7 separate regions of the Homo sapiens genome follow, and regions 1, 2, 3, 4, 6 and 7 are each linked to region 5. Evidence: promoter capture Hi-C in 16 types of primary human blood cells and fetal thymus (Javierre and others, 2016). All regions are on one chromosome and are shown on one strand. Each heading gives the region's core, a stretch centred on a gene start or on the middle of the fragment in contact. The rest is flanking DNA. Distances are from core to core; before and after follow the strand shown. Region 1 overlaps PPP1R21 (protein phosphatase 1 regulatory subunit 21). Region 2 overlaps STON1-GTF2A1L (STON1-GTF2A1L readthrough). Region 3 overlaps PPP1R21 (protein phosphatase 1 regulatory subunit 21). Region 4 overlaps STON1-GTF2A1L (STON1-GTF2A1L readthrough). Region 5 holds the start of FBXO11 (F-box protein 11). Region 6 has its middle 9.6 kb from the start of PPP1R21. Region 7 overlaps PPP1R21 (protein phosphatase 1 regulatory subunit 21).

The links. The method cuts DNA at HindIII sites, captures the fragments that hold promoters and counts their contacts. A CHiCAGO score of 5 or more calls a contact.
Region 1: a contact is called between a fragment that was not itself captured here and the fragment with the promoter of FBXO11 in region 5, in 9 of 17 cell types (non-activated CD4 T cells, activated CD4 T cells, M1 macrophages and 6 more). The highest score is 9.3, in non-activated CD4 T cells.
Region 2: a contact is called between a fragment that was not itself captured here and the fragment with the promoter of FBXO11 in region 5, in 1 of 17 cell types (fetal thymus). The highest score is 6.4, in fetal thymus.
Region 3: a fragment that was not itself captured here is called in contact with the fragment with the promoter of FBXO11 in region 5 in 15 of 17 cell types (total CD4 T cells, M2 macrophages, M0 macrophages and 12 more); the score reaches 13.1 in total CD4 T cells.
Region 4: a fragment that was not itself captured here is called in contact with the fragment with the promoter of FBXO11 in region 5 in 3 of 17 cell types (M1 macrophages, M0 macrophages and megakaryocytes); the score reaches 7.8 in M1 macrophages.
Region 6: a fragment that was not itself captured here is called in contact with the fragment with the promoter of FBXO11 in region 5 in 17 of 17 cell types (total CD4 T cells, naive CD8 T cells, naive CD4 T cells and 14 more); the score reaches 32.1 in total CD4 T cells.
Region 7: a fragment that was not itself captured here is called in contact with the fragment with the promoter of FBXO11 in region 5 in 5 of 17 cell types (fetal thymus, non-activated CD4 T cells, M1 macrophages and 2 more); the score reaches 7.9 in fetal thymus.

What each region holds. Positions count from the first base shown.
Region 1 is chr2:48,477,729-48,480,667 of GRCh38, forward strand. PPP1R21 (protein phosphatase 1 regulatory subunit 21) reads left to right here. Exons shown (of 22, transcript NM_001135629.3): 13 at 2,196-2,288. Among named protein-coding and RNA genes, the nearest start is that of PPP1R21, 38 kb to the left of the region's middle. The HindIII fragment of the contact is 1,734 bases long and covers 577-2,310 here.
Region 2 is chr2:48,535,166-48,538,095 of GRCh38, forward strand. All of the region lies in intron 1 of STON1-GTF2A1L (STON1-GTF2A1L readthrough), which reads left to right. All of the region lies in intron 1 of STON1 (stonin 1), which reads left to right. Among named protein-coding and RNA genes, the nearest start is that of STON1, 6.5 kb to the left of the region's middle. The HindIII fragment of the contact is 2,613 bases long and covers 135-2,747 here.
Region 3 is chr2:48,457,433-48,460,593 of GRCh38, forward strand. It overlaps PPP1R21 (protein phosphatase 1 regulatory subunit 21), which reads left to right. Exons shown (of 22, transcript NM_001135629.3): 4 at 694-795; 5 at 2,322-2,486; 6 at 2,663-2,721. Among named protein-coding and RNA genes, the nearest start is that of PPP1R21, 18 kb to the left of the region's middle. The HindIII fragment of the contact is 1,509 bases long and covers 605-2,113 here.
Region 4 is chr2:48,584,917-48,588,233 of GRCh38, forward strand. All of the region lies in intron 2 of STON1-GTF2A1L (STON1-GTF2A1L readthrough), which reads left to right. All of the region lies in intron 2 of STON1 (stonin 1), which reads left to right. Among named protein-coding and RNA genes, the nearest start is that of GTF2A1L, 31 kb to the right of the region's middle. RefSeq lists an enhancer at 617-1,251. The HindIII fragment of the contact is 917 bases long and covers 1,251-2,167 here.
Region 5 is chr2:47,905,248-47,908,540 of GRCh38, forward strand. FBXO11 (F-box protein 11) reads right to left here and starts at 1,251. Exons shown (of 23, transcript NM_001190274.2): 1 at 242-1,251. The coding sequence starts at 473. It overlaps LOC100506235 (a long non-coding RNA gene), which reads left to right and starts at 303. Exons shown (of 2, transcript NR_187636.1): 1 at 303-552; 2 at 2,071-2,920. RefSeq lists silencers at 24-73, 84-203, 564-753, 1,244-1,343 and an enhancer at 1,413-2,197. The HindIII fragment of the contact is 3,894 bases long and covers 1-2,356 here.
Region 6 is chr2:48,429,638-48,432,597 of GRCh38, forward strand. No RefSeq gene overlaps it. Among named protein-coding and RNA genes, the nearest start is that of PPP1R21, 9.6 kb to the right of the region's middle. The HindIII fragment of the contact is 8,975 bases long and covers 1-2,960 here.
Region 7 is chr2:48,508,394-48,511,703 of GRCh38, forward strand. It overlaps PPP1R21 (protein phosphatase 1 regulatory subunit 21), which reads left to right. Exons shown (of 22, transcript NM_001135629.3): 20 at 1,622-1,720; 21 at 2,947-3,075. Among named protein-coding and RNA genes, the nearest start is that of STON1-GTF2A1L, 20 kb to the right of the region's middle. RefSeq lists enhancers at 1-199, 200-974. The HindIII fragment of the contact is 2,035 bases long and covers 853-2,887 here.

The DNA.
Region 1 (2,939 bases), core at 194-2,693, 570 kb after region 5:
TTTAGAATCAGCTTGTGTTGATGTCTACAAAGAAGTCAGTTGGGATTCTGATAGGGATTGCATTGAACTTGTAGATCATTTTGGAGAGGGTTGTGAGTTGAATTGTGTCCCCCAAAATAATATGTGAAATTCTAACTGTCAGTACCTGTATGTGTGATCTCCTGTGGAGATGGGATCTCTGCAGATGTCATCAAATTAAGATGAGGTCATACTGGATTAAAGAGAGTCCTAAATCCAATGAATGGGATCCTTATAAGGAGAGAGAGATTTCGAGACAGAGACACACAGAATCTGGAGACAGAGATACAAGGGGGAAGGCCATATGAAGACAGATGCAGGGATTGGAGTTATGCTGCCACAGGCAAGTAACACCTAGGGCCAACAGAAGCTGGAAGAGGCAAGAAAGAATTCTCCCTTAGGGCCTTTGGGGAGAGTGTGACCCTGCCAACACCTTGATTTTGGACTTCTGGCCTCTAGAACTGTGAGAAAATAAATTTCTGTTGTGTTAAGCCACCTTGTTTGTGGTACTTCATTACAGCAGCACTAGGAAATTAATACAGGGAGTATTGCCATCTAAGCTTAGTCATCTGATTCATGAACATAGTATGTTTTTCCATTTATGTAGCTCTTTAATTTCTTTAAACACATCTTCTAGTTTTTAGCATGTAAGTTTTGTGCCATGATGTTGCTTCTCAAGGATTCAGCCTTGGGCATGCATACAGTCACCCTGAGATGACGATGGTGGCAGGGCTCTCCTTCACTGTCTCTTTCACTGATCACACCCAGGTTTAAGCTCTGCTGATTGCTGATTGATTGCTCTCATTTTCAAAATGTCGTGGGGCATCAATTGTCTATTCAGAGAATCAATTCAGTTTGGGCTCTTTTACGGGTATAGTTATAGACCTAGTGTACACCTAGCAGGTAGAGTTTTTTGAGATCAGTGTTTGCGCTTCATTCTGACCCCAGGAGGGCTCTTCTTAGCTATTTCTGTTTCCTGTTCTCTCTGGTAAACCAGGCAGCCCACAGTTTAACTTATATCGCTAATCTACCAATTTCTTCTTCATTGCTTTTACCACAGCCATAATTTTTTAGAGTACACCCTTAGGCTTGAACTTCTCCACACTGTATTACAAATTAAGTCAGTTCCTTAAGAAGAGATTAAGAGCTCTTGTTTTAAGGCTTGCTTATCTCCTGGGCTAAATCTCTATGGGCTAGGGACAGTGGTCATACTTTTCTCTAAGTGACACCCCCTTGTTAGAAACTGCGCCCTTAGTGGAGGGGGTAGGCAGCAGCCCCCGGTCTCCTTGGTCTGCCTCTTTCAGGGTGGAACTCCTGTTGATGAGCTGGGGCAAGGGTGATCAGGGCCCCACTTTTCTTGGCAGCACCACGCCCAAGGTAGAGCCTCCATCTTAGGAGTAGGGGCTGGGTGAAAGAAGGGGAACGTTCCCCGCCTCTGTCCACACTTGCTCAGAATTTAGCTTCAGCAACAGGTAGCTGGGAGCAAGAGGAGAAATCCAGACCTCTTTAGGAGTTGGGAGAGACGAAGTCCCGTGTTCTTGGCTATACCTATTGGGAATGGAATTTCTGTCTCCCTGAGCTGTGGGAGGGAGGTAGTGATTCTTGGTTTAAATACCGTAGCCTCTCACTGTTATTACTGAGTTGTTACAGATTTTCTTGAGTAAATCATGTGCTGTGTTGCCCTTAGAACCGTCTCCAGAGACTTTAAGTGATTGTCCTTTTTGCAAATTTTACCAGTTTTGCAGAGGGCAAGCAGGTCCACAGAGCTCCTCACGCTGACATGGCAGAAGCAGAACTCTGTGATATTTGGGTAAGAGTGTTTTAGCGATGTTCAGCAAATAATGTGTAGGGAATGAAAAATGCATTATATAATAACAAGGTAAACATTCACAAAGACTTTCGTTTTACAAAGAATCATGACAGACTTAATCCTGCTTAACAACTGAATTTTGTTTCTCAACCATTAAAAAATATTTGTGGACATAGGAGATGCAAATCATTTAGATGTGCTTATGTGTATCACCATTATGTCTGAATGTATCTGCCACGATTTTAAGAGGCATTATTTCTAGCACATTACAACCAATCTTCATTCTCTATCTTCCCAAAAGTAGAGGGATACAATGGGCAGTCCATTTTTCAGGAAAATGCTTAGATTTGTGATTTTGATTTCCTAGGTACAGAGCCAGATGGACTCCTTCGGACAAACTACAGTTCTGTGTTAACAAATGTTGGTGCTGCTCTGCATGGATTTCATGACGTTATGAAAGGTAGGCCTTGAAAAAGAACGTAAGCTTAAAACCTTTGCCCCACTTTCTTCGATCTGCCTGAATAAGATTTAAACAAACACTGCCAAGGGTAATAGACCCCAGATAAAGGCTTATTAGCATTTGGCTTATGTTGAGTGCACAGCTCACTGCCTTCTGCTTTTCCCATCTGTTTTATTTCTGGAGGTAAACAAAGTGCTGAAGAGAAATCCTTGTGTACAGTCCTTGTGTACAGTACTTTAGCCAGAAATACGTTACACTGACTTTAGGCAGGTGTGTGAATTGTACAAAACCAGACATGCTATTCAGAGGCCTTTTGCAAAATACGTTGCGCTTCTTAGAGCCCAAGCACAAAGGAATTGAGGAAACCAAGGCTTCAAGTCCCCAGAAGGAATACACTAACTTTCCACCATCCTGTGCATTTTAATATTTTAAATGCCTTTTAAAGTCCTGTCTTGTTGGGCATAGCCTTAAGAAATGAAAGTCTGGTTTTGCATTTTGGTCAGTTTTCAATTGCTTCTGTGCTCCTAAAAATGTAGTCTGCTGAAAGGCCGAGGGGAACCTTTTATTTCATATGCTTCTTAGCGTGTGATTCTGAGTCCTGACTAATCTACAACTTTGCAATTGCTTCTAGGTTTTTTTTCCCTTTCTTTT
Region 2 (2,930 bases), core at 191-2,690, 630 kb after region 5:
CTCAAATGTACCTGTGTGTTACATGGAATGCCAGGGGAAATAAAGGGTTTACCATGGAATAAGAAAGAGAAAAAAAAAACCTCATTGCTGGATGCTTATTACTATGAACACACAACAATAAATTATCTTTCGAAAGCTTGCCTATGTGGGTGATCCCATGCATTGGTGAGTTTGACTGATTGGGTGAGGTGGAAATATTTAGTGTGAGTGATTCTGGGGAGAGCTCTGGGAAAAAATGCCCACATCCTGTACTACCATGTCCCCTCACAGGCAAGCAGCTCCTGGGATCACTCATCCATTCTCTTTGTGGAAGGTACCTTGAGATCCCCAGAAGGATCAGCATTCTTAGAGCCCCTGGCCCATCACATAACAAACATGCCTTAAGAAGAAGGCTTTCAGCTGGGCGCAGTGGCTCATGCCTGTAATCTCAGCACTTTGGGAGGCCGACGTGGGGGGATCACCTGAGGTCAGGACAAGAAGTCTGATCACAAATGATTGTCATTTTATTATAATCTGCCTTCTCCCTGGTAGCTTTTAAAATTTTCTCTAAAATGTTCCACAGGTATGTCTAGGTATGGATTTAGAAAATTTTATCCTACCCAGCAGTCAGTGAGCATTTGTGATTACACAAATTTGTGTAGCTGGGCACGGTGGTTCATGCCTGTAATCCCAGCACTTTGGGAGGCTGAGGCGGGCTGATCGCTTGAGCTCAGGAGTTTGAGAACAGCCTGGGCAACAAGGATGAGACCCTGCCTCTACAAAAAATATAAAAATTAGCTGGGCATGGTGGTGTGCCCTGTGGTCCCAGCTACTTGGGAGGCTGAGATGGGAGGATCACTTGAGCTGGGGAGGCAGAGGTTCCAATGAGCTGAGATCAGGCCACTGCACTCCAGCCTGGGTGACAGAGCGACACTCTGTCTCAAAAAATAAATCAAAAAACCTAAAAACCAAATTTGTGAGGATTTGTGATTACCCAGTGAGCTGTGTGACCTTGGGCAAGTTGCCAAGTTCTCTCAGTCTCCTCATCTATGAAATATAAATAATGATAGTATCTATTACAAAGATACTGTGAAGAGATAGTGCATGAAAATGTCAGAATACGCCAGGTGTGGTGGCTCACGCTTGTAATCCCAGCACTTTGGGAGGCCAAGGTGGGCAGATCACCTGAGGTTAAAAGTTCGAGACCAGCCTGGCCAACATGGTAAAACCCCATCTTTACTAAAAATACAAAAATTAGCCGAGTGTGGTGGTGGGTGCCTATAATCCCAGCTACTCGGGAGGTTGATGCAGGAGAATAGCTTGAACCTGGGAGGCGGAGGTTGCAGTGAGCTGAGATCGTGCCATTGCACTCCAGCCTGGGTGACAGAGTGAGATGCCATCTTAAAAAAAAAAAAAAAAAAAAAAAAGTTAGAATAGTACCTGCTATATAAGGAAGAACGCAAAAATTGTTAGCTATTATTACTTTTTTATTTTTTCAGAATTTCTGGGCCATCTTGGATTTGACCAATTTATATAAACGTTAGTTTGTCTAGTTGCACACACACAGAAAATCCTGTTGAGATTCTCTTTGAAATTGCATTCAATTAATACTGACATCTTTACAGTGCTGGCTTTTCCTATCTTCTCCTTTTATTCAGGTGAATGATTACTGGTGATTTCCCCTATAAATGTCTTCTACAACTTTTGCTGTATTTATATCTTATAGATTTGGTTGATATTTTAAACAATATCTTTTGTCCTAGTATATTCTCTAGTTTACTTGCTGGCCCATAGAAAGAAACATTGCTGATTTTTGAATTTTGTTTTTTTACCCAGCATCCCAGCTGATTCTCTTATTAGTTCTAATAGTCTGCATATAGATAATTCTTGAATTTTCTATATAGACAATCATAAAACAACGATAATTTATCTTTTCCATTTCTGTGACTCCTACATCTTTTTCTTACCATACTGCATTGGGGTAGATGGTCCAGTACAGTGTTCAATAGAACTGTGATGACAGGCACCCTTGCCTTGTCTTCTTACTGTCTTTAACTTTAACTGCTCTTAAAGTTTCTCCATTAAGCGTGAAGTTTGCTTAAGGTTTCAGTAGATAGTCTTTATTAAACTAAGAACTTTGCTCTATTCTTAATATTTTTTAACAAGGTAAAAATTATATCATGACAGTATATATTTTACTTAATGCTTTAATGTCTTTTTCATAACTATATGAGATGATCATTTTTTCTTGATATTACATTGTGATAAGATGAGCGTATTAATTGTGTTGAAACATGTACATAAATATACATATACAGGTATATTATTCTGTAGGGTATCGGTTGCTAGTATTTTACTTTGGATTTTTGCAAATGTTCATAAGTGAAGTTGTTCTAGAATTTTCTTTTTAAAATATTGGTCTGGCTGGGTGTGGTGGCTCATGCCTGTAATTCCAGCCCTTTGGGAGGCCGAGGCGAGCTGATCAACTGAGGTCAGGAGTTCAAGACCAGCCTGGCCAACATGGCGAAACCCTATCTCTACTAAAAATGCCAAAAATTAGCTGGGCGTGGTGACATGCACCTGTAATCCCAGCTACTCGGGAGGCTGAGGCACGAAAATCACTTGAACCCGGGAGGTGGAGATTGCAGTGTGCTGAGATTGCACCACTGCCCTCCAGACTGGGCGACAGAGCAAGACTTCATCTCAAAAAAAAAAAAAGAAAAAAAAAGGAAAAAAAAAGGAAATTGTTCTTATATTGTTTGGTATCAAGCTTGTATTGGCCCTATAAAGTAATCATAAGTATATGTCTTTCTTTATCTTTTTTTTTTCGAGACAGAGTCTTCCTGTTTCCCAGGCTAGAGTGCGGTGGCATGATCTTGGCTCACTGCAACCTCCGACTCCCGGGTTCAAGCAATTCTCCTGCCTCAGCCTCCTTAGTAGCTGGGATTACA
Region 3 (3,161 bases), core at 109-2,608, 550 kb after region 5:
TTGAACACAGTTTCATTGTTAGGCTGTTCCTTGAATAGTCTCAGTTCTATGTATTACATGAAAACAAATACTCATTATTAGATGTTTTAAATAGTGCTATTCTTCTATGTAGAACGAGTTCATATTAGTAAAAATTTAAAGGAAGGGATTTTAAAATAATCTTTGAGAATTTTCCTATTTATTTATAATAGCTTTATTTTATATATTTTTTAACTTAGAAATTTATATGAACTTTTGTATAAACTTACCTTTGTGGATGCTGTTACAGAATTTATTACAATTTCTTATGGAGTTTAACAACTCCGACTCATGAAATTGCTATAACTCTCATTTCCCAAACCAAAAGATCAAATTGAAATGATATTTATGAGCTTATTTTATATTGCTGGAGCTTTCTAGGTCTGCTCCGTCCTCCAGCAGAACTACTCCTGAATTCATCTGCAAAGAATAGTAAGCCTTATCTGTTCTTTTCTCTCTCTTTTTAAAGCTTTCCTGCTCCTTACAATATTTGCAGTTTCAACTTGTGTCACATAGGAAAAGTTAAATGATGAACTGTATAGCTTTTGCAGGATTGTTTGAGAATGGTGAACACATAGAAGAGACAAGCTTCTAAGATGATAGAGAATCTGTGTACCTTAGGATGTTTCTCTAAAGGATGAAAGTTATGTGGACATAACTTATTCTTTCCATCAGAAAAGTGGAGAATCTTCTTCTCAGTTGAGTCAAGAGCAGAAGAGTGTCTTTGATGAAGATCTGCAAAAGAAGATAGAAGAGAATGAACGGTTGCATATACAAGTGAGAAAATCTGTTTTTCTATGTGAATTAAAAAATGGGTCTGTGATCTGTTAATGTGGAAAAGCTAATGCACATAGAGTGTTTTGTGTCTGCGTGGGTATTTTAATGTCTTCTATGGTCTTCAAGTATATATGTCACTGTCACTTATTCATTTCTTAAATATCACACAGTCTTAATGTGGATGTGTGCTTTGAAGTATATGCATTTGTTCAGAAGACAGCAGAATAGCTTTATAACTTAACAGTGCAGAAATATACTGAGCATTATTCATTTTATATGGGAAGTGATTACATGTATCATTTAAATGGGAGCTTACCAATAAATGGTATTTGCTTTTTTCCCTCCCCCTCCCTTTTTTTTTTTTTTTTAACTGATGTTTAGTTTTTTAATTTACTGATGTTTAGTTGGTTCTTATCCCTACCCCTGTTAAACTGTAAGGTCTCTGAGGGTATGAACCATGTATGTTTCCTATGCCTAGTCCCAGGACAGTGTCTTACTTATGTCAGGCACTCAGATATTTATGGAATGTTGAAAAGTTAGTGCCTGCCCCCAAACCACTGAGCATATTCTAAGATTCATAGTGGGCTGGGCGCAGTGTCTCATGCCTGTAATCCCAGCACTTTGGGAGGCCAAGGTGGGCGGATCACGAGGTCAGGAGATCGAGACCATCCTGGCTAACACGGTGAAACCCCTTCTCTAGTAAAAATACAAAAAATTAGCCAGGCGTGGTGGTAGACACCTGTAGTCCCAGCTACTTGGGAGGCTGAGGCAGGAGAATGGCGTGAACCCGGGAGGCGGAGCTTGCAGTGAGCCGAGATCAAGCCACAGCACTCTAGCCTGGGCGACAGAGTGAGACTCTGTCTCAAAAAAAAAAAAAAAAAAAAAGATTCATAGTATAGTGTATCCAACTATAACCTCCTTACTTATTTTTTTTTGGTCAAATGGTAGGAAACACACACACACACACACAAACAGACACGCTTTTCAGTCTTTGAAAAAGTTGTTTTTGACCACAGTGTATTTTATATCTAAGTATTCACAATTCTTTATTAGTATTGGACTCTAATTACAGGAAAGAGCTTTACCTGTTTTAAGAATAACACCTGTTTTAATTTTGATTATTTTATGTGAAAGTTAGCTTAGTAGAAAAGTTATACTCTGATCAATTGAATTCTATGTATGCCAGACATTGTTTAAAACAGAAATTCATGAGACTGAGAGGTAGGAGGTGCAGGCTTTGGAGTAGGTTTCCTGTGTTCAAATCTCAGTTCTACTATATTTTAGCTGTGAGACATTAGACTAGTTATTAACTCTTTTAAGCTTGAGTTTCCATATTTGTAAAGAGGAATAACAGTAGCTACTTCTGATATCCTGTGAGGATTTAATGAGATAATGCCTGTGTGGGTTTAACATAGTCAGCATATGGAACCATGTGGAAGTTGCTCAGTGAATAGTCACTGCTGTTATTTTTCTCATTTATGTATATTAGGATATTGTGAGAAGAGAAAATGGTCTTCTCTTTTTAGTTTTTTGAAGCTGATGAGCAGCACAAGCATGTGGAAGCAGAGCTGAGGAGTCGACTGGCCACTCTGGAGACAGAAGCAGCCCAGCACCAAGCTGTGGTTGACGGTCTCACCCGGAAGTACATGGAAACCATTGAGAAGCTGCAGAACGACAAGGCTAAACTAGAAGTAAGCCCCATTGTGAGAGCACACTAAAAAATAGTTACAGCTTTTGTATTAATAAATTGTCTATCCACTTAGAGTTAGTCATTTCTGGTGAGACTTTTGCCTGCAGGGTCTTACTAAGTGTGCTCCTATCTGTCGTAGCCTGAGCCATCTGTGTTTCTTTTTCTTCTGAAATTCAGGTGAAATCTCAGACTCTAGAAAAGGAAGCCAAGGAATGTCGACTTCGAACGGAAGAATGGTATGTGGAAACTTGAATTCCAAGAGGGTTCTGAAGCAAGACTCAGAAGACATGGGTTTTGGTTGTAGCAGCTCCTCTGTTTTAATTGTCTTACATTTAAAAGGAGAAAATGGGAGTAATCTACAGGGTCCTTTTCAATTCTGGGATCTCCGGGGCCCTAAGCATTCTTGATAGAGTGGCCTGTGTATTAGTTCTCAGCCTGCAAGGGTTTGGGGCTGTGGCAGATCGTGTTCTGGAGCTCTTGCACTGAAGACTGGAGACTTTGTGTTTGAAACTACTCTAAACAGAAGGGGCCTCTGATAGTCCCAGGAAGGAAAACTGATAATCACCATGCCAATCTTTTAATGGTACATTTTGAATAAAATAGAGGTTATGCGATCTAATTTGGAGATACATAAATTTTAAAATCAAAATACTAGTAATGCATGGTAAAGGTGTAC
Region 4 (3,317 bases), core at 459-2,958, 680 kb after region 5:
TCAGGTGAGAGACACAGGCCTAGTGAGCTGAGGAGCTCCAGGACCCTGTGCAGAAGGGAAGTTCCTACATTGTCTTTCTTCCTGACACCCCATACCCTTCTTCATTAATGCCAAATTTCACCCCACAGCGTTCTCAAGACTCAGATTAATTATGTTCAGTTCCCCCATACTAGCAAGGATAGCTCAGGCTTAGGGCAGAGTGAGGTGGTGATGGTGCAGCCTGGTCACAGTAAATGGTCTCAAACAGCACATTCTGATCAACTCTGCTGTGATGGGAGGGAAGGTCAGTATCTTCTATGATATAATCCACTGAGATGATGTTTCCTGCTTTCTTTTTTTTTCTTTTTTTGGGATGGAGTGTTGCTCTGTCACCCAGGCTGGAGTGCAGTGGTGCAATCTTGGCTCACTGCAACCGCTGCCTCCTGGGTTCAAGCAATTCTAGTGGCTCAACCTCCCAAGTAGCTAGGATTACAGGCCCGCACCACCACACCCGGCTAACTTCTTATATTTTGTGTAGAGATGGGGTTTCACCATGTTGGCCAGGCTGGTCTCGAACTCCCAACCTCAGGTGATCCACCCGCCTCGGCCTCCCAAAGTGCTGGGATTAGAGGTTTGAGCCACCGTGCCTGGCCCCTGCTTTCTTTTATAACTTGGCTAGAGAGGCAAATTGAACCATTTGCATCATCATGCCAGAGAAACCAGTTTTAAGGTCTTCATACAAGGTTCCAAATGGTCTATTCTAAAAGTTACTTGTGCTAGTTTTAGGTTAGAGGGTTTAAACAAAATCAGAGTATTAGCTTTTGTTTTGCTCAACAAAAAGGGAAAGAGAGGCAGGCAGAAAGTCAGGCAGGCTGGAATGCCTATTGGAAACTCCTGGATCTGCAGGTTTCCCCTGAAATCTGGGTGATAAACTAACTCCTGTTGTTTTCCGTTGATCCTAGAGATGGTCTCGAGGACTAGAACAAAAGGTCCAAAGCAGTTTTTGCATAGACTTGAAGTGGTAATTATGCTTTTGAGAGAGAAGCACAATAGGCTCAGGCTGTGGGCTTGCCCACGTGGTGTGAGAGGGACAAGAGCACAGGCTCCCTTTGTAGTCCATTCCTATTGCTCTACTTAGAGCAGGTGCTCCGGGAGGCCCTGAAGGAAATAAGCACTTGGCTAAAGCCTGGCCAGGGTAACCACACTTATTTTTCAAACTGAGAACCCATACCAATCATCTTTTCTAATTTTGGGAGTGCAGACACGTATGAAGCTTTTTGTGAAAATGATCCTGTTTATAATACTGCATTTTTTTCAGAGTCATTGGTGTAGTTAACTGATTCAATCAACAAGAATTTATTGAGAAGGAGTCTCACTCATTTACTCCACAAACATCTACTAAAGTTCTTCTAGGTATAGGTTCTGTGCTGAGTGTTTAAGAGATACAGACACAAACATGATTCCTACTCTACCAGAAACTTAACAGTCTAGAAGGTGAGACAGACTCTGAAGCAGCTACCCAAATGCACTGTGGAAAAGTGCATAGTTCCAGGCTTGGACAAACATATGCACTTAGGGATCCCAGAGGAAAGGGTAATAAACTGCCTGGGGACTAGGGAGGGCTTCGCTGAAGAGCTGATGGCTGGGAGAGTCAATAGAGTTTCCATCAAAGAAAGAAACAGCAGAACCACAGGTGTGTGGGTGGGGGATCTTACCTAAGTTTTGGGGCTGAGGGAGTGGTCGGGGAAGAGACCAGTGTATTAAGACCTTGTGGGCCATGCTGTGGGGTGTGAAGTTTATCTGTCAACAGGGCCTCGGGGTTGTTTTCGGCATGACTGCTACAGAATCATATCTTGTTTCAGAAAGGCTGGCATGCAGTGCAGAGGAAAGATTTAGGAGTAGATTATAGACACAGGGAAGTTGGGAGGAGGTAAGGGTTGCTGAGCAAAGGCAGTGGCAGAGAGAGAGAGGCAAGAGATGGGTGAGCGAATTCAGGGGAGGTGCCCCTAAGTGATGACAGATTCTCTATGGGCATGAGGGAAAGGGAGGGAATGGGACAAGGTCAGGTGCTCTGGCTGTGGTGGATAGGTGGGCAATGGTGCCATTAGCCGAGATAGCCTGGGATCTTCTCATCACTCATCCTTTTAAAGTCTGTTTCCCAGTCCTGGCCACATGTTAGCATCATTAAAGCTTCAAACACATACCCATATTTGGGCCCCATCCCCTACTAATCGGGCTCTATGAAGATGAGGCTCAGGTGTTGATGTTTATAAAGGCTCATGCAGCCGGGGTTGAGAACTACTGACGTGATCCCCTAGGCAGAGATCATTCCTCCCTGCTCTGCATATGCCTTTGTCTTCCAGACCTCTGTTATTGCTCTCCCATGAGTATTTATTTATTTATTTATTTATTTATGAGACGGAGTCTCGCTCTGCCACCCAGGCTGGAGTGCAATGGCACCATCTTGGCTCACTGCAACCTCCACCTCCTGTGTTCAAGAGATTTTTCTGCCTCAGCCTCCCAAGTAGCTGGGACTACAGGTGCGCACCACCACGCCTGGCTAATTTTCGTGTTTTTAGTAGAGATGGGGTTTCGCCATATTGGCCAGGCTGGTCTCAAACTCCTGACCTCGTGACCTGCCCAGTTTGGCCTCCCAAAGTGCTGGGATTATAGGCATGAGCCACTGCGTCCGGCCTCCCATGAGTATTTATTAGCAGTGGAGCTCACCAAGAACAATGACAAGAATGGACATTTCCAGGGAAACTGGCTGGACCTGATCTTGGCCTTCAGGAATTCTTTTGTAAAACCGTCATATCACCAGGCCCACAGAGGACAACATTTTACAGGCATTTCAGTCAATTACACAGTGATAATTCACTGAACAAATCCTTTGGGATCACAGCTGCTTTATTGAGATCAGGTCTGTGCACAAAGAGGAGGCCCAGGGAAAACACAGTGGGGCTGTGTCAGGTGGCGTCCAGAGGGCATGGTGCAGCTGTGGGCCTGGCTTGGGGCAGGACATTTCTGGGATTACAGGGCCCTGCCCCAAGCTTCTCCGTTGAGGGGGTAGGGAGGGCAATGCAGAGAGTGAGAGGGTGCCAGGGCAGGCTATAAGCTAATTTGCCTCTTGAGAAGTAGGGTAATAATAAGGTTGGAGCAGAGAGGAAATCTTTGTCCTAAGGCAGTGCTTCTCAAACTTTTGTGGGCCCAGGAATCACCTTGTTAAAATGTGGATTTTGACTGAGCAAGTGGGATCTGGAATACTGTGTTTCTAACAAGTGCTGATGTGACGCCAATGCATCTGGCCCAAGGAATACGCTTAGAATAGCAGGATCCCA
Region 5 (3,293 bases), core at 1-2,500:
AAACCAAACAAAGCGCGGCCTGAGCGAGAGCCCAGGCGAGAAGGGAAGCCGCGGCTTTTCCTGCCGGCCGGGCCCGGCCCGGGCTGACACTGCGGCACCGGGGGACCCGCCTCCGCTCAGCTTGGGTCTCCCACCCCCAGGGCGCGCAGGCCGCCCCCGCCCGCCCGCCCGCCCGCCCGCCCCGGCCTCCCTTCCCGCGGTGCCCGGGAAGGCGGGCGGTTGGGAGGTAGCGCGGCCTTACCCCGCTCGCCGACGTTGTTCCGCTCCTGAGGCAGCGGCGGAGGCGGCGGTGGCGGCGGCGGAGGCTGCTGCTGCTGCTGCTGCTGCGGCGGCGGCGGAGGCTGCTGCTGGGGCGGCTGCTGCTGGGGCGGCTGCGGCGGCGGCTGCTGCGGGGGCTGCTGCTGCTGTTGCTGCACCGGGCGCGGCCGCGACACTCGCCTGGGTCTCCGGTTGGCGGCTCGGACGGAGTTCATTTGCCGGGCTGAGGTGGCGGCGTTGGCGGAGGGACACACACACGCACACGCACAGCGAGCTTCGGGGCAGGAGAAAGGGGTGGGGAGAGTGGGAGAGGGGGGAGGAAGGAGAGGGGGCGAGGGGAAGGGGAGACGCTGAGGGCGGAGGGGGCGAGCGGGACCCCGAGTCCGGAGAAAGGCCCGGGTAGACAGACGGAGACCGAGCGAGGCCGGCCGGGAGGGCCTGACGCACGGGGAAGGCCGAAGCCGCCGGGCGGGGCGGCCGCGAGGGACGAAGGCAGAAAGACGGGCAGACCGAGAGAAAGAAAGAAAGGGCGTCCGCCGCTTGGGGATCCCGAGGCGAAGCGCGGCGGCGGCGGCGGCGGCGGCTGAAGAGACAGATCCCGGTCCCGCCGACTCGCGAGCGGCGTCTCCGGCAGCGGGGGGAGTGGGCGGGCGGGTGAGGAAGGGAGAAAAAGAGAGGGAGAGAAGGGAGGGAGGGAGCAGGGGGCGCCCGGCTCTTTTTTTTCCCTCTTCCTCCCCCCCACACCCCCTGAAAGAGATTTCTGTGAGGAATTTTTCTCTCTTTCTTCGGTCTCTTCTCTCTCCTCCCCCCCTTCTCTCCTCGGCGAAGGGGAAATGAGTGTGAAGGGAGGAGATAGGGGGAAAAAGAGGCGTCGTCCTTCCTCCTCCTTAAAGGAACCTTTCCTCCTCCTCCTCGTCAGCCCTGTCGCCGCTGCTTCTGCTGCTGCTCCGTGGCAGGAGGAGCCATTGACACCGCCGGAGCCTCCACTCGCCCAGTCGGTCCCTCCCCGCCGCGGGGCTGGCCGGGGGCGCGGGGGAGGGCCGCGGGGCGGCGGGGGGAGGGGTGGGTGGGCGGGGAAAGGAGGGGCGGGGATTCCGTCCAGGCGGCCAATCTAAGGCGCCCGTACAACCTTCCGGCCAATGGGGCCTCCGCTCTTATCGCGAAGTCCCTTCAACGCCCTGTTTCCTCTCTCGGGTTTCCTCCCTCCCCCGCCTAGGAGGGGGAAAGAGGAAAGGGGGAGTGTGGCGGGGCGGGTGATAATGGGGAGGTATCAGGGCAAATAATAGAGCAGGGGGTGGGCGAAGAGAGCGCCAGTGCGTAGCGACGATTCTGGGAGAGGAGGTGCTCGGAGGAAAGGGCGGGGGTTGCTGATGTAATGGGGAGAAGTGATTAATCCTTCGGTTCGCCGTTTCAGCTTCCCCCCTACCCCAACCTTCACCCGATTTTTTTGAGCTGAAAAAAAAGTGGAACGAGGGAGCCAATCTTTGGTAACTCGGGTTTTCTGTGGTAGGTGGGTTCAAAATCTGAGCTGTAGGGAGCGCTAGAGATTTCGTGCCCTTTAGCCAAGCTGAGGGTATTTGCAAACCCTGAAGATTTCCGTCTCCGAGCTTTGGGCTTGGTAAGCGAAGTTTGGAGTCGGTGCCTAATCGTATATCATCTAAACCTTGAAAAGGCTTTGACCTTTGGCCAATTTGATTTGTTCTTTGAAGAAGTGTATACAATGTGTGGGAAAATAATATGTGAGAGGAGAGAAGTAAATGTGTTGATGTTGTGATTGTTTATGTGATTTAATTTTTAATTTTTTTTTTTTAGGTCCCACAAACTGCAAGGAAAAGAAAAACCCTCAACAGGAATTACCTTTATACCTGATGCCCCCAACATAATCTCTCTCCAAGGGAAACGTGTTTTTATTGCCTTGCGGCTGAAAATGTATTCTCGATTCTCCCCCTTCTCTCTTTTGTTGTGCATTTTTTGGATGTGGTAAAACTGGCAGTTTATCTGATTATCTGGTTTTCAGAACTTTGGGCGATGTCTCTGAGTGTCATCAGTTGCTCTCTAGGTTTGACATAGATAATTAAGCAACTACAAAGCGTGATAAAGCTTTTGAGAGGGAGGAAAATGTATTTTGGAAGGAGGGAGAGACGCAAAGAGGCGAGCCTGTGTGTTGAGTCCCAGACTTGGTGTGTGACTACAGGCAAAGTACTTCACCTTTCTAGATGTCAGCCCCGCCCCCCTCACCTCCCAAGTTTAAATAAGAACTTATTTTAGACTACATGATCCTGTTTTCAATTTTTAAGAGTTCTGTGATTTTGAGATGATCTCTCTTTAGTCCAGAAAAATAGAGAAACGTAGGTCTATGTTTGTTTCTCAAAAAAATATTTGAGGAGGACAGCTGTTACAAAACAGCTGGAGAACTCCAAATTTTTATGGTGGTTAGCTAGGTGCAAATGGGTACAATTTTAGGTTTGTTCAAATAAACATAGGGGAAAAGTAAAAGTACAGGAAAATTACGTTATACATATAAGTGTGTCCATCATTTCTGATTTTTCTAAAAATTTACTTTTTTATTTGACAAGTACTTTTTGGCTCCTTCCGTGTATGCATTAATATGTATATAAGGTGTTATGGGAAATACTAATAAAAGGAAAATATTGGGCATAAAGAGTTTGTATTTTGGTGTGGCAGAGTGGAAGTTTTACTTACATTAATTCAGATGTAAAGAAAATGTAGCTTGTTTATTTTCTGTAATTTTAACTTCAAGTCCCCACATCATCTCAATTTTTTAAAAAACATAACTGCTTTCACCTTTTATTTCCCCAACTCTCCTTCTAATATATTAATGGGAGGGGCGGGGTTTAGGGTTGTTATATGTGGTATAAGGGGTATCTTTTACATACCCTAGATTTCTAAGTTTATTGCAACAATTCTCTGACATATGGCAGTAAAATGCCTTGTTTTAGCAAAATTAGTATATTATGACAATTTCCTGATAGATGGTAGTAAAGTGTCTTGAGAAAGGAAGCACCTTTTTCAAA
Region 6 (2,960 bases), core at 335-2,834, 520 kb after region 5:
GAGGTAATGTTTGAGAAGGAGTTGTGGAGGTGATGGGGAGCAGGGAAAAGGGTGTGTGCAAAGACACATGGGGTGCTGGAGAAACTGGTTGAAAATCAGAACTATTGAAGCTGAGTGCAGGAAGCACGGTGGGGCCCAAGAATTTGGGTCTTTTTCCCTGGGAATAGAAACTTGTTTTTAATCTATGAAGCTAGTAACCTGTGACAAGAAAGGGGATGGACTGGAGTCAGGGAGAATGGTTAGAAGGCCGTTTCTAAGTAGACCAGCAGCCTCAGATGAGGCTCATGATTGCTACTATTTGTAGAGCTATGGAGTAAGGCCGTACCACCCTGCACCTAAAGGGCAGGTCCAAAAGACCTGTGCCCTCACTCTACGTCTTTATGTGATACTGGCAAGGAATAAAATAGTGACACTTGTAGTAGAGTAAGAAGATAAACCATGGACAATTGTAAAGCATCTTTAAAAACTGAAGACACAAGTGGGTGGGTGATGAGAAATTGCTTAGTGGGTACAATGTATGTTATTCGGGTGACAGATACACTGAAAGCTCAGACTTCATCACTACACAATATATCCATCTAACAAAATTTCACTTGCACGCCTTAAATTTATACAAATTTTTAAAAATCAGAAAACAATCCTGAGGACATAAACACACACATGGAAGTATGTTCAATATATGCACTAGCATGTTCATTGCAACATTATTCACAATGGCAACGAAATGGAATCAACCCAGGTGCCCATCAGTGGTGGGCTGGATAAAGACAGTGTGGTACATATACACCATGGAATGTTACACAGCCATAAAAAGGAATAAAATCTTGTCCTTTGCAGCAACACGCATGCAGCTGGAGGCCATTATCCTAAGCGAATTAAAGCAGAAATAGAAAACCAAATACCGCACATTCTCATTTATGAGTGGGAGCTAAACATTGGGTACACATGGACATAAAGATGGGATCAATAGAGGATGGGGATTATAAATACTGAGGAGGAAGGGAGGGGGGCAAGGGTTGAAAAACTATCTACTGGGTACTATGCTTACTGGGTGACAGGTTCAATCGTACCTCAAACCTCAGCATCACACAATATACCCTTGTAACAAACCTGCATGTGTATGGCCTGAATACAAAATAAAAGTTGAAATTTTTAAGAAAGCATGTTCAATATTACTAATTTTCAGGGAAATGCAAATCAAAACCACAATGAGAAAGCACTTCTCACCCACTAGTTCAGCCATTATTAAAAAAATTAAAAAGCATCTTCGGTATCACTAATCATTAAGGAAATGCACATCAAAAACCACAGGGAGAAAACACTTCTCACCCAATTGGTTAGCTATAATGTAAATAAGCAAACAAAAAAGATAGCAAAAGAAAGTAACAAGTATTAGTAAGGATGTGGAGAAACTGGAACCCTTGTACATTCCTGGTGGGAACATAAGAGTGCAGCCACTGTGGGAAATGGCATGATGGTTCCTCCAAAAAAAAAAAAATTAAATATAAAATTACTATATGACTCTGCAATTTCACTTCTGGGTATATCCCCAAAACAATTGAACACAGGAACTTGAACAGATATTTGTACACCCATGTTCATAAGAGCATTATTCCCAATATGCAAAAGTTGGAAAAAAACCAAATGTTCATCAATGGATGAATGGATAAACAAATATGGTATATATATACAATGGAATATTATTCTTTTTTAAAAAGGAAAGAAATTCTGACACATGTTATGACAGTGCTGAACTTTAAAAACACTATGCTCAGTGAAATAAGCCAGACACAAAAGGACAAAACATTATATGAGTTCACTTATATGAGGTCCTAGAGTAATGAAATTCATAGAGACAGAAAGTAGAAGAGTGGTTGCCAGGGGTGGGGGGCAGGAGGATGACGAGTTTTCATTTCAGGGATATGGAGTTTCAGTTTGGGAAGATAAAAAAGTTCTGGATGGGTGGTGGTGATTGCACTACAATATGAATGCACTTGATGCTGTGGAAGCATACACTTAAAAATTGTTAAAATGGTAAAATTTATTTATATATTTTAACATACACATTCGAACCCCCTTCCACACACACACACAAACTGAGGACTATCCCCTGCCTCCCCACCCTCAAGAGCCAAACTTAACAATCCAATACATTTGACCCCCTTATATGTGATCTGGTCACTCATTGCTCCTCAATACACATGTTTTGTTTTACAGCCAGTAAGTAGAACGAATACAATCAGATTTAAGGGCCTAACAGTGGAAAAAGGGAAGGCCTCATGCTTAAGAAAACAGAACTCTTTAATATCTAATTTTAATTCAAGATTAACATTTATTAGGTGTTGAACTATATAACAGAGTGGCTCTCCAAAAGAAAATGTTATCAATTTGGGAATAGAACACTGCAGTGGGAATACGTACAAATGCCATAGTTAACTATGTGTGTGTTCAGGGAGGTAAAGGAAGACAAAGGTTTTTTAAAAGAAGAAAATGAGAAAGATTACACAGTTGTTTCAAAAAAATTATCTTTGGCTACAAAGATCAGTAACAAGGATAATGCCATAACGCCAGTCCAGGGTTGGGCAGGCAGTTGCTGGGCAGCTGTCCCCGCAGAACTATTTTTTGTTTAACGTTGCGATAGCATTTGTGTAAGGTTGTGGTTTTTCCAGAGTCTCTTTTGCTACCAGGTATACAAGTGTGAGAACCCTCTTTTTAAGGTCTCCCCGGTCTCTCTTTGCTAAGGTTTTTTTGTTTTTTGTTTTTAAGTAGTAGCGACTCCGTTTTGATTGTGACAGCATTCACATAGGTTATCAAGAGTATCAAGATTAACAGGTTTCTAGTATGTGCCCTTAATATGATATATTGAAAATTACACCTTATCTGTTTGTCCTCCCAAAAATTTGGCCCCAGTAATCATATGGAAACAGTAGCCAAATCCCAGCTGAGGCATGCTGTACAAA
Region 7 (3,310 bases), core at 620-3,119, 600 kb after region 5:
TTGATAGGAGGCCAGTTGCTAAAAGTGAAGAGGGGCTTTGCATCTTTTTCCTGCTAAAATAAATTGTGTGCTTAGCTCAGTGTTGTTCACAAGCAGCCATCGAATACATGTTTGATAAGCTGATCAGTAGTGACAGCTTGTTGGAATGCAGGAAAGGGGGAGGACAGCAAACTGAATGGCTAGCAGTGGAAATGCTGAATCACTAAGCCGGCAGTCCAGCAGGCATGGATCCTCATTGTTTGGTTCTGAGTTAGTGTCTCAGACTTGATTGTCCTTTTCACAAGGACCTGTGCCTTGCATGCCTATATTCCTCTTTGTCAGGTTCATTGCTGAGCACAGAATAGATGTTTGGTTAATAGGAGGCGGTTGACTTGGTTGGCTGAACTGCCCTAAAATTTTGTGAGAAATGAAATAAGTAGCTGAGGAATTTTTTTTAGGCTGTTTGATTTCCAAGACATTTAGTTATTTTAGTAAATATCTTCTGTGCAATTGTGATTCAAGAATTTTTAAATTGTCCTACTTTTTCCTTATTGGTAAACAGGAAGTGGTGACCTCCCCCCTCCCACATGACTTTACTGCTCTGAGCGCCTTATGTTGACATAGCATTTGCATGTGTTTCAACAGATTCTCCTTGTCAGTAACCTTATCAGAAAGTTTAGTGAGCCTTTTAATTTCATACCCTCTTTGAACAATATTGTGAAATAGGATTTTTCTTTTATCGTTTTGATCTACACACTCTCTGGATAGAGTAGGATTGGTAGAACCCCTAAAGAAAGCAGCCTGGAATTTTTGCAATCTTGTGCTCATTTTTTCCCTTGTAAGTAGCGCATAATCTGTAGGGTAGGATGGTAAAGCTTTTATTGCTCCTATAATGTGGTCTCTAATGAAGGACTTAAAACACAAGAAAAGTACCTTAGGATCCATAGTGCGTGGTCAGAAGCTCCTGATAACTTTTGTAATAATCACTTTTCTTTTTATCTAGTATAAATATAAATGAATTCTAGATAAATCTAGAAAGTTCTTATGTAAAGAACGGGTGCTGTGGCTCACACCTGTAATCCCAGCACTTTGGGAGGCTGAGGTGGGCAGATCACTTGAGGTCAGGGGTTTGAGACCAGCCTGGACAACATAGTGAAACCCGTCTCTACTAAAAATACAAAACTTAGCTGGGTGTGGTGGTGCATGCCTGTAATCCCAGCTACTCGGGAAGCTGAGGCAGGAGGATCACTTGAACCCGGGAGGTGGAGGTTGCAGTGAGCCAAGATCATGCCACTGCACCCCAGCCTGGGCAACAGAGCAAGACTCCGTCTCAAAAAAAGAAAAAAAAAGAAAGTTCTTATGTATTATATATAACCACTGGTCATCAGGCTAGAGTGAAGAAAAAAACATTGATCTTAAGTTGGTAGACTTTTTTCCCCTTACTGAAATGACAAAGCTGGGGGCCACTTCTTTCTTAGGTGTACTCTGATGTGTGACACAATGCCTATAGGTATTCAACAGATTATTTGTGGAATGAATGAGTAGCTTTGGCTTTGAGAAGTGTTTTTAACAAACTTTCCCGAAGCAAATTTGGTTTTAGAAAGTGCTCCCTCTAGTAATGGAATGTTTTCTGATTTTACAGTGCCGAGCACTGTCTAAAAGACTGGCCTTGGCTGAAAAGTCTAAGGAAGCATTGACAGAAGAAATGAAACTTGCCAGTCAGAACATCAGCAGACTTCAGGTGAGTTAAGTGTTACCTGAATGGTTTTAATGTTTTTTCATTGAAAGTTCTTTGGTAGCAAAGCAGCATTTCTTTTCCAAAGGCATTTGATCTCTAGATATGCTTTTTAAGATAACCACTGTATTTCTGATTCATTTAAAAATAACATCTTACTTATGTTAGGCAAAAAGTAGTTGTATTGTTTCTCTGACTTGATTCTAATTGTAAATCATTTTATAGTCGGCTTTTGCTTAAATAATACTTATTTACCCAGAATTTTTCTTTCCCCTTCCTTGTACATACCCATCATGGTGAGCTGTAGGCTTGTTCTGTACATAGTACTCTGTTCCTTTTCTTTCCTGTTGCATAAAACGGATCTAAACTGAAAGGTGGGGCTATAACATTCCTTCTTACTCACTGCCTGGTTTTAAATCTTTGTTTTCAGAAAGCCTCTGCTAATAAAAACATGATGCCAGGCAAGGAAAAAACACAGCACTACAGCAACACCCACTTCCTCTTTGCTTTAGATTCATTTATCAGATTAATTAGGCACACAGGATTAGATTTTAGGCAGCAGAAGAGAGCATGAGAAATGGGAAGAGAGATGAAGGGTGCTTCTTTCAGGGACGGTGCTGCCGGGAGGGCTGTAGGCCATCGAGGCATAGGATGGAGGCAATGTGTTGTAGGCCTCACCTATGGCTCAGCAAAACCTGAGGGAATTTGGAAAGATAATGAGGCCATATGGCTTTTCTTACAATTTTATACCTGGCATAGAAAGAAACCCTTAAATTTTTGCAAAGAAATTATGAATCTACTTTGGAGGCTGAGAAAAACTTGTTGCCATTTCTTTTAACTTTGTTCTCTTGTTAGGCCTGGGCCTTAAGCTGCATGTCAATTGATCAGATAGACCATCTTTATAGGTTGCTTTTACAAGTAAAAGAATTTTTTTAAAAAATTGATGTAAATAGTTGTACATGTTTGGGGGGGACATGGTATTTTGATTATTTTGATACCTTTGTACAGTGTGTAATGATCAAATCAGGGTCATTTGGAGGTCCACCACCTCAAACATTTATCTTTGTGTTGGGAACATAATAATTCTTCTTTTGTAGCTATTTTGAAATATACAGTAAATTATTGGGAAACTATAATTTCCCTACTCCACATTTTTCTTTTGTGAATTAAAAAAGCTTCAGAGTGGTACGACTCGTGGGATGTTGATTTTTGTCTTTTTCTTTGCTATTTAGGATGAGCTGACAACTACCAAGAGGAGTTACGAGGATCAGTTAAGTATGATGAGTGACCACCTGTGCAGCATGAATGAGACATTATCTAAACAGAGAGAAGAGATTGACACACTAAAGATGTCCAGTAAGGTATGTGAGGTGAGGTGAGGTAGTCTCTCTGCAATATAATATTTAATGTGAGGTATTTTATTGTTATGCATTTCAGGAGGAAGAGGACATAAGATTTAAAGTGTTTGTAAGGGCCAGGGGCAGTGGCTTAAGCCTGTAATCCCAGTACTTTGGGAGGCTGAGGTGGGAGGATCCCTTGAGGCCAGGAGTTGGAGAGCAGAGTGGGCAATATAGTGATACTTCATCTCTACAAAAA